Regions from separate parts of the Homo sapiens genome. Here all the other regions are linked to region 1. The links are contacts of gene promoters, found by promoter capture Hi-C in human tissues and cell types (Jung and others, 2019). All regions are on one chromosome and are shown on one strand. The core of a region is centred on a gene start or on the middle of the fragment in contact, and the rest is flanking DNA. Distances in the headings are between cores, read along the strand shown.

The links. Contacts are between HindIII fragments. The study calls those that stand out against the background at their distance.
Region 2: a contact is called between a fragment that was not itself captured here and the fragment with the promoter of C11orf91 in region 1, in 1 of the 25 tissues and cell types used here (lymphoblastoid cells).
Region 3: a contact is called between a fragment that was not itself captured here and the fragment with the promoter of C11orf91 in region 1, in 1 of the 25 tissues and cell types used here (lymphoblastoid cells).

What each region holds. Positions count from the first base shown.
Region 1 is chr11:33,699,442-33,702,625 of GRCh38, forward strand. It overlaps C11orf91 (chromosome 11 open reading frame 91), which reads right to left and starts at 1,385. Exons shown (of 2, transcript NM_001166692.2): 1 at 804-1,385. The coding sequence starts at 1,299. RefSeq lists silencers at 1,051-1,140, 1,321-1,560. The HindIII fragment of the contact is 4,290 bases long and covers 1-2,121 here.
Region 2 is chr11:33,137,115-33,140,349 of GRCh38, forward strand. The region is part of intron 3 of CSTF3 (cleavage stimulation factor subunit 3); the gene reads right to left. Among named protein-coding and RNA genes, the nearest start is that of CSTF3, 23 kb to the right of the region's middle. The HindIII fragment of the contact is 8,496 bases long and covers 1-3,235 here.
Region 3 is chr11:32,965,974-32,969,538 of GRCh38, forward strand. QSER1 (glutamine and serine rich 1) reads left to right here. Exons shown (of 13, transcript NM_001076786.3): 9 at 327-464; 10 at 3,073-3,170. All of the region lies in intron 2 of LOC105376615 (a long non-coding RNA gene), which reads right to left. Among named protein-coding and RNA genes, the nearest start is that of DEPDC7, 48 kb to the right of the region's middle. The HindIII fragment of the contact is 4,122 bases long and covers 41-3,565 here.

The sequences.
Region 1 (3,184 bases), core at 135-2,634:
GTGATGGGAAAGACAAAGTCTGCAGGACAACCTACCGCTACTGAAAGTTCTACTTTGCAATAGGTCCTTCTTGGAGTACAAGGCATTTAACAACTTTACCCTCCAACAGGGAGGAGTCATTCAGCTCGTAGGCTGAGGGATCCTGCCCGCATCAGCACACGTGGTCCAGAGCCCTAAGACTTCAGACGTAAGACCAGATATCAGCCCAGGATCCTGGTGAGAGAACTACCGGCGCCAAGGCCACAGAGTCCCAGGGGGGCTGCCCCCCAGCATTGAGAAGTGGAGTGTCCCAAAGCTGCCCTGGAAACGGCCTTGGGCCTTGTGGTTCTTGCACAACTCCCACCTCCCCCTACAGACAACTGACAGTCACCTTACTTCACCTTCCCCCCATGGAGAGCCCCGGTTTAGGACCGAACATTAAAGCTTAGGGACTGTCTGTGGTGGGTGGAGCTCCAGAGTACAGGGTAGGAGGATGACTGTGCAGGAGGATTAAAGTTCAGGACGGGGTGGTGGCGGATGGAGTTCCAGGTGTGGAGGCTCAGAGTCCAGATGACCCAAAGGGTTTAGGACGGAGGGAGGATGGAGTTTGGGACTAAGAGGCTCATGAAGTTCAGATCTGTGGTGGGGGGAGGAGTCGGTTAAGTCCAGGATAAGGGAGTCTGGGTGCTAGGGGATAGATTTTGGATCTGGGACTACTGGGGGCTGGAGTCAAACCAGGCTACATTTCGGGTCGGGGCACGGAGCCAAGGAGGGAGCTAGGGCAGGCTAAGGCTGGGCTCGGTGGCCCTGGCGAGGTCACGCACAGCTCTGGGAGTCGAAGCCGTCCCCAGTGATGGTGAGCAACTCCAGCTCCTTAATCCGGATCTCCAGCTCGCAGAGCTCCTCCGGGTGGGAGGCAGAGGCGAGCCTGGGGGTCGAGGGGCAGGGGACCAGGGGCGAGGCAACCACCTCAGGCCCCGGCGGCGGTGAGTAGAAGAAGCGCAGAGGCTCGTAGGGGATGGAGGCCAGGCCGGAGGGCCAGGGCGAGGGCCAGGGGCGCTCGCTGGAGGGACCCAGGCCGGGTGGTGGCGGGGGCGGGGGCGCCGGGGCGGGGAGCGCCTGGGACAGGGACCGGGCCCCCGCCGCCCCGCCCACTGGCGCCCCGCCCGCCTTCAGCGGCACGAAGAGCTTCTTCCAGATGTTGAAGTCGCTGAGCGGGGACGAGGAGATGCCGCGGTCGTACAGGGACGGGAAATAGAGGGGCGGAGCCGACCGCTGGCTCATGGTGGGGCTGTGGCTGCCGCGCCGCCCCTTTGGCATCGTTTGAATGAGGGTCTGCGTGGGAGGAACCCCGCGCCGGGAGACGCGCGCTCAGGCCCCGAGTCGCCGGGGTTTCGAGGTTCCACAAGCCCCGCCCCGATGGAGCGCGGCCCCACCCTTTCGCCTCAGCCCGGCCCCTAACAGGCGGGGTTCCAAAGCCCGGACGACCACGTCCCGGAACGCGGCCCCGCCCACCTCGGCTGGCCGCACCCCGCAGTTAGAAAGCCACGCCCCCTGGCTCGCCTCGCCTCGCCTCCCGTCCCTCGACTCCGCCCACCGCCTCGCTCTTGCTCTGCGACCCCGCTGGCTTCCGTTGTCATATCCCAGCATACCCTCATCCAGAACAGGCAGCGGGCCAGGGCTGCAGAAGAAAGCTTACTTCAGGCTTCCTCTCTTTCTCCCATGAGGGAGAAAAGTATTTCCTAGAAACCTGGCCCCTGCACCAGCAGACTTACCTCATTGCCTCACTGGCCGCGCCCACAGCAAAGAAGTCTGAGAAAATCAGTGTCTGATTTTTCATCCACTACTGTGGGAGGCAGACAAAGGAGAAGAGGATTGATTGGGAATGGCTGTTAGAGCCAACCTATGTATCTGCCAAACGTTAGCAGTGTTGAGGAAGATTCTAGAAAAGGGGATCCTCATCTGGTTTGTAATAGACCTGAAGGAGTGTTTTCAGTGAAATGCAGTTTAGTTCTCTTCCAAACACAGATATCACCAGGAGCTAACAGGCAACGAGCTAACCACCAAAAGGAAATCCTGTCCGCCCTACCTCAAATACTTCACCCATTGCTTATGAGCGATTTGGACATTTTGTCCAAAGGACATGACAGCTCATTTATGTGAGTAACCTGTATTAGCCATAGACTGAGGGGAAATAACTAATACATTTTCTTGAGAGCCTCTGCCTAATGATCACTGGTATGACTAGTGATGGGTGGAGGGCAGTTAAAGAGTCAGTATCAGCTTCACAAGTTAAATATATATATGCATATGTATCTGCACACACAGTGCAAAGTGTGTGTGTGTGTGTGTGTGTGTGTGTAGCAGCAAAGTGGAGAGAGTCAGATATTCAAGCTGGGTAGCCTTGGACAAGTTGCTTGACTTTTAAGTAGGTTTTCCATAAAATAGAAATAAGAAAACCAGGCTGCCTCATAGGGTTGTGATCAAACAGAAGACGGAACAGTGTGTGTGTGAAACACTTGAACTTGGACACTTTGTCCAAACACAAGAGGCAGCTGTCCCTACTAAGGGGCATGTCTGAAACTGGGAAGCTTTTTCTTCCCACACTGAGCTTCCCACACTTAGTTGTCACACGCAGTATTTGCTCTCTGACTTTGGCAGCCACCCATCATTGTTTATTCATACAAGTGATCACTAGGCTGAGGCTCTCAAGAAAATGTATTTCCCCTCAGTCTATGGCTAATACAGGCCATGTGCGATAGCTCAGCACCCAGCCTGTAATCCCAGCACTCTGGGAGTCTGAGGTGGGATCTCTTGAGGCCAAGAGTTTGAGAACAGCCAGGGGCAACATAGCGAGATTCTGTCTCTATAAAATAATTTAAAAAATTAACCAGGTGTGGTGGCATTTGCCTGGAGCCACTCAGGAGCTGAAGTGGGAGGATTTCTTGAACCAAGGAGGCTGAGGTTGAGGCTGCAGTGAGCCACAATCATAGCACTGCACTCCAGCCTGGGTGACAAGGCAGGACCCTGTCTCAAAATAAATAAAATAAAATAAAATAAAAAATACCCTTATCTTCCATTAGTTTCCCCCACATATTTAACTTCCCATAATTTACTGCCCAAGAAGCTCAAACCTCTTTTCCTTTGTCTTATCACTTTTCTACAATCGCCCATTGTTAAAATTGTATATAAGCTCTCAAGCCAC
Region 2 (3,235 bases), core at 191-2,690, 560 kb before region 1:
GTCTTTGCAGGGTAAAGAAAATGACCATATATTTTCAATGTGTTTACTAATGACTGCAGAGATTAGTTTTGCTTTATAAAGCTGAGAAATACATAGGCAATCAGGTTGACTAGCACAAGATTTTGCTTGAAAATAAATGGCTACATTTCACATAAAAGAATTATCTAGAAATTATAAAGATTAGAAAACATACAGTTTTATTTAAAGAAATGTCATTATCTAAGTGACTACATCCTTTTGAAAGTAGTTGCTTTGGCTGAGAAAAAAAGTCCCAAGGGAAAAAATGTATAGACCATGTTAGTAGAAGTGACAGCATCTAAACATCTCTGTTATAGAATGGATAGGGAAAAGGGATGGAATCAGATAATTCAATAAAACCTAAAATAGTTTACTACTTATTATAGTCAACATGCAAATATTTCCTTTGCTTATCAAACAGTACTTTATTCAAAGCACTTTCAGATTATCACTCAGTTCTGTTTACAAGTACTTTTTTCTTGTAATACATCTCTATTCTACATTTATATATGCATCTAAGAAACTAGATAAAAAAGCATATTGAGTTTTAAAGTAAAAATCTGAATAATCACACAGACATGGACCAACATTTATTACAAACAGGAAAAGTGTAGATCTATAAGAAAAGAGTACAGATTTTTTTTGGTAAAAAGGCTGCAAGCTGAAGTATAGAAATCACCATAATCTATATAATGCAGTAATTGTATCTGCATTTTAAAATCACATTGCTCAACAGAAAGAAAACATTATAATACAGTAATTTAAATTGCTATGTAAAGGTATTAAAACAGTATCAACAGTGGAAAAGTTTATTTCAATTTAGGACACTCATGTTGCATCCTGAGTTCACTTCCATTTTCCAAGAAGAAAGGTCATTTTGAAAAACTGAAATGTATGCTACACAACCCATTATTTATAAGGAAGGAAAAACCAAGTATAGAGAAAAGAATTCATCTTTTGTAAAAATTTTAAATAAAACAATCAATTCTCTATATGCTTTTATTAAAGAAATACAGCTTTCACAGACAGCAAGATACATCGTTGCTATTACCAGCAGCATTACCTTCTTCATTTCTCCTTCAGCCACCAATAAAAAACATGCTTCAGTAAAAAAATTCCTTATGAATGTGGCCCGATTCAAAACAAATTACTTCTCTAACAATAAGATATTGTAGCTTACATGTTGTCACTCATCACCTAATTACATGAAAAGCTACAGAAACCACAGGCTGGGTGGGGCAGAACAATTTAAAAGAATATGTCAAAATTCTGTAGGTTTTCTCAATTTTGTGATTATTTAGTGACCTTTTTGATCATTGTAAAAAGTAGTTCTTTAAAGAGCACTGAGGCTCTGACTGGGGCATTCCACTTAACTCAAGTGTTTAAAACCTCTCATTTATTAAATCCAAAAATATACTAAACTGCATTTAAGATATCCTTATCCGATTAAATAGCTGGAGACATATTTAAATGTTTCCTTTATTTGAAACTAAGAAGTCACAAAAGTACTTTCATATCATAGTGATATTTAAACTTTATACTTGATAACTATCACTTTAAGAATAGTCATACAATTAATGACTTGCTCATCTTATAATAATACTGTTAAATCATGTGACCTAGCAGTTTTGGAATAAAGAGTAGAACAATGTATTTCAGGGAGTGGAGGCAAAATGTTATCTCCTATGTATTATATATAACACCAAAGTAATTTGGCCTAGTTTTTGAAATTATATATTAAGAATACACAGAAGTTTGTCCTAAATGCCATTCACTAGAGCAAGATAATTTTACCTCCAACAATTTCCACACTACAGCAAAAAAATGAAAGCATGTGACAAATTCAGAATGACATTTTAAATCCAAATTTTACATAGCTAAATAGATACTGCTCAACTCTCAGTTATGAGCAAATCTGATGCACTGGCTCATATAGCAGCATCATTAACCTTTTTTAAAAGTAATTAATATGCTCTCATTTCCAACTGATGTTTCAAATTTTTTTAAAAAGTTTAATACTTTTTTCCTTTGACATTTTGTACTTAAATAGGATTTGCAAGGAGTTTCTCTGGGGAAGCAAATTATCTTCCGTTACTAAAGATGTATGTATTTTCTATTAAAAAAAGGTATTTGGAGTCACACAAGTTGGCTTAGCAGAATATAAAGAAATGAACATTACAATTTTCCCACCATGAAGTACTGAGTTACAACAAATGTATTAACAAAACTTTATTTTCTTGAGTGCATACAGAATGTTATGTAAACACTTAAGTATTACTTTCAATGTAAAAACATTCTTATTATCACTTCGGATTTTTAAAAAGTATTATAAATAGGTTTGTGTCTTCTCCAGAAATATTAATGGCCACATTGAGTGATATGATCAAAGAAAACTTTAGCCTCTCACAGGCTAAACAAAAATATAGAATGTGAAAATAAAAAATAAACAGCAAACCAGGAAAGAGAAAAACACAGCTCAGGATATGCATTTCTAAAACCAGCATTCAATTTAAAACCTTAATTCCTAAACCAAAAATATAAATTTTAAAAAATATACATATATATTATTTACCATTTGTTCTTAATACATGTTATATATACCTATTTGTGCGCGTGTGTATGTTTGTGTGTGTGAAGTAACTGCAAATATTACCAACTAAATAAATCAGGCAACTGCTAGCAGCTCTTCATTTCATTATATGAATTGAGCCTGTTATGTAGACAACTTTCAGCCCCTTGGAATAACATCTGGTCTTCCTGAAACTTTTTTTTAGGATGCAGTTTGTAACTTACAGCTAGGAAATTGGAGAAACAAACCCATTGTGTTCAGAGTTACAGAATGGAGTATCTAACTGCCTATTTCAGTTTAACTTACGCTATAATAAAATGCATGAATAATGCCTGAATAATTGAGAAACAAGGAAATTTCAAAAACTCAGAAAGTTCTACTTCACTATACAAAAACAATTATATATCAATTATTTTCATTTCTGGTGCGTTTGAATTTAAGTCTAATGTGTTTCTAAAGCCAGACTAGAATGCAGATCAGGTGCAGGTGATCCAGGTTCCTTGTTTTAATGAGTTAATACAAAGCAGCACGGGCTTCAGCATATTTCAGACAGGCCTCACCTGTTTTGTGCCAAGCTACTTTGGTGATTTAAATATATTAAGGAAAGAAATGGTCCCAGAGGATAGGTGATGAAACTTTAAGGTATGG
Region 3 (3,565 bases), core at 852-3,351, 730 kb before region 1:
CACACACACACACGAATCACCTAGGAAGCTTTTTAAGAGCATAATACTTAAGCTTCATCACCCTACCACGACCACCACCACTACCAAAGATTCTGTTTTAGGAAGTCCAGCAATCTGGTTTTTGTTCTATTGTTAACAAAGCTCTTCAGTCATTGTCATGTGCAAACCAGCTTTGAGAACCTCAGACCTTTTAAAGGTAAGGTGAGAAAGTCTTGAATTTGAAGAAATTGTATCTGCAATCTGCTTCTAGGGTCTCGTTATAGAGAAAAGTGTTTTTAAAATTGTCAGGAAGGAAAATTTAATATTTAACCCTTTCTCCCTCCCAGAATTTGAACCTCCCGCTCCCTTTGTCACTCGCTTTTTGAACACAAGAGCAATGAAGGAAACCTTTAAGAGCTACATGGAATTGCTTGTTAGCATTGCCTTGGACCCTGACACAATGCAAGCCTTAGAGAAGAGCAATGGTACAGTCTTCTAAGTAGTACTTCCTTGGTAGTACTTCCTGGAATTAAAAAAAGAAATCTTGTCTGTTAGTTATATGTTTATATGTGACTTGTGTAATATATACCTATAAATTGTCAGTTAAATATATAGCATCTTAATTCCATAAAATGGTCATATCTTTTCATGCATTCTCTGAATATTTGAACTTTTATTGCTTTCTACTCATGGGAAAATTGTATAGCTTCTAACCAGTTTCTTCCAATTCTAGAATCTAATCATCCTCATAAATAGTTTACTAAGTGTTAGTATTACATGAAAGGTCTGTATGTCAGTATATTTTATTTTCCAATAATTGGAAAGATGAACCAGATAAAAGTGGCATAAAGATTAAAATCATATACTTGTATCTTTTGTAAAAGATACATCATAGCAATTATTTTCTAATCAGTTAAAATTAGTATTAAACCAGTAAATGCACTGGGTTATACCAATTAATATTATTCCTTTTAGTTATTTGAGAAATCTCCATACTGTTTTCCATAGCAGTTGCACTAATTTACATTCTCACCAGCAGTCCCAGTACTGAGTATCTACATAAAGGAAAATAAATAATACCCAAGAGACACCTGCACATGTGTTTATTGCAGCACAGTTCACAACTGTAAAGATATGGAAAGTGCCCATCAGCCGATGAGTGAATAAAGAAAATATAGTGAATACTATTCAGCCATAAAAAAGAGCAAAATAATGTCTTTTGCAGCAACTTGGGTGGAACTGGAGGTCATTATTCTAACTGAAGTAACTCAGGAATGGAGAACCAAATATCACATGTTCTCACTTATAAGTGGGAGCTAAGCTATAGGTACACAAAGGCAGCGTGGTATAATGGACATTGGAGACTCAGAAGGGGAGAGGGTGAGAAAGGGGTAAGGGATGAAAAACTACTTATGGGGTACAATGTACACTACTTGGGTGATGGATGCACTAAAATCCCAGACTTCACCACTATACAGCTCATCCATGTAACCCAAACCACCTGTACCCCTAAAGCTATTGAAATTTTTAAAAAGTTTTTTTTAAAGAAGAAAATAAAAGGTACAGTAAGAATATGGCATTATAGTCTTATGGAACCACCATTGTATATGTGGTCTGTCATTGTCAAAAATGTCATTATGCAGTGCATGACTATATACTGTTTTATTATGTTCACATACTTAGACATATATTCTAATTTAACCTTAAAACAACTTAGACAGCCATTTTGTGGATTAAGACAGGTTCAGAGAGGTTAAGTGACTTGCTTAAGGGCCCACAAACTTGAAACTGGCAGAGAAAGGATTAAAATTAAAGTCTTCTAATTTCTGGTCTAGTGCTTTTCTTACCACCTAATCAGAGACAGTAACCTGTATATCAGTCATTTTCAAGTAATTAGGAGCTGGAAGGGACTTTAGATATTACCTAGTCTGAAACATTTATTTTGTAAACTAAAGTTCAAAAGAGATTAAAGTTAAAGAACAGGTTAGAGGTTGAAGAACCATGATTAAAACTCAGCTAATCCCAGGTCAGCATTTTTGCTATTAAATGTTATATTCCTTGCATCATAAAATATGCTTCTCTTTGTAGTAGTCATTTCTGTATAGTTGTATTTTGAAAGATTTTTAAAAATTGCTTATCAGTGTTTTCTGATTTTTCTCTAAGGGGAGAAAATTTTTTAAGATTATTTTTAAATCACAAATGTTTAAAACTTACTTTTGTAGAATGTAAATACAGTATTAGAACAGATTGAATCACTAATAGAAAGACTATGTAAACAATCATTTTACTTAGCTGTGAAACTTGTGACCTGGATTCTGGGTTGTTGTTTTTTTTCAGAAGGTTATTAGAGGCAGTTAGTATTATAAAATATAATAAAGTACTATGCTGGTAAATTAAGAAAGAATCTAATAATCTAAAATGTTTAATGCTACACCAAAACTAATTATATTCTAAAAGTACTTTTCTTAATGGAGCTTAAAGTTCAGAGTGGTGACACTGAAAGCCAAAAGCTTTGAATAGGAATCTTTGTCATAATTTTACTCTCCCCTCTTTTTCTAAAATAACTATTTTGATTCATATTTTTGGTACTGGGTTTTGATCATTTTTCTTCCCCTACTTTTTCTTTGCTTCAAGTTAAAGTGACTTAATATCCCTTGGTCATACTCAGTGTTTTGTTAGATCAGTTTGTATTTTGTAATTGTTCAGATTGTTCAGAGGGTAAATGAGGTCTGGAGGAATTAGGCAGCTTGCCTATTCGTCACATAGCTGCCACATATCAGTTCTATTCAGTTAAAATCCAGTTCTAGTTTATCCAGCAGTTGTAGTTCAGCTAAAACTTAGAACTTTGGATCCTCATGTAGTGCTCATCCCATCATCATACTGAGCTGCCTCTTTCTCACTTGCTACTATAAACCTACTTTTCAAGTTAACCTTTGTTCAGAAAGCTTCATGTCCAATTTTTTTGCAATCAGTATTTTACATATGCCAATGAATTTAGTGTATTTTAATATATAAATGTTTTGAGAAAAAGTTGGATTTTTTTCAAAAATATTTATTGATAGTTTATCCTGTTAAATTATAATGTTGTTTCAGATGAGCTACTTTTACCTCATATGAAAAAAATAGATGGCATGCTAAATGATAACCGAAAGAGACTTCTTTTGAATCTTCATTTGGATCAATCATTCAAGGTATTTCCTTCTGATGACTTATTAGCAAAACTCAATGGCAGTCATAGTCTTAAGTATAATAGGAAGGAAATTTATGAAAATTATTCACTTACAACATTTTTCACCTAATGAAAATTTGGCTTTTATTCATTGTAAGTCCATTTAGTTTGTCTGCTTAGTGTTAATCACTTGCTTTTCTCCACTTAAATTTATTTTTTAGGCATTTATAGTTATCTATTATATCTTCTATAAAATAATTTCCAAATGTTCTTTTAACGCTTTTCAAAATTTTTACATTTTGTCTGTAATTAAAATTAGCTTTTCCTTAGCACAGTTATCAAAATTCACCGTACTTGCCTCATTTATTCAATATCAGAGGAAACGCTGATTTTTATAAGGGTAGGAAATGTATATAA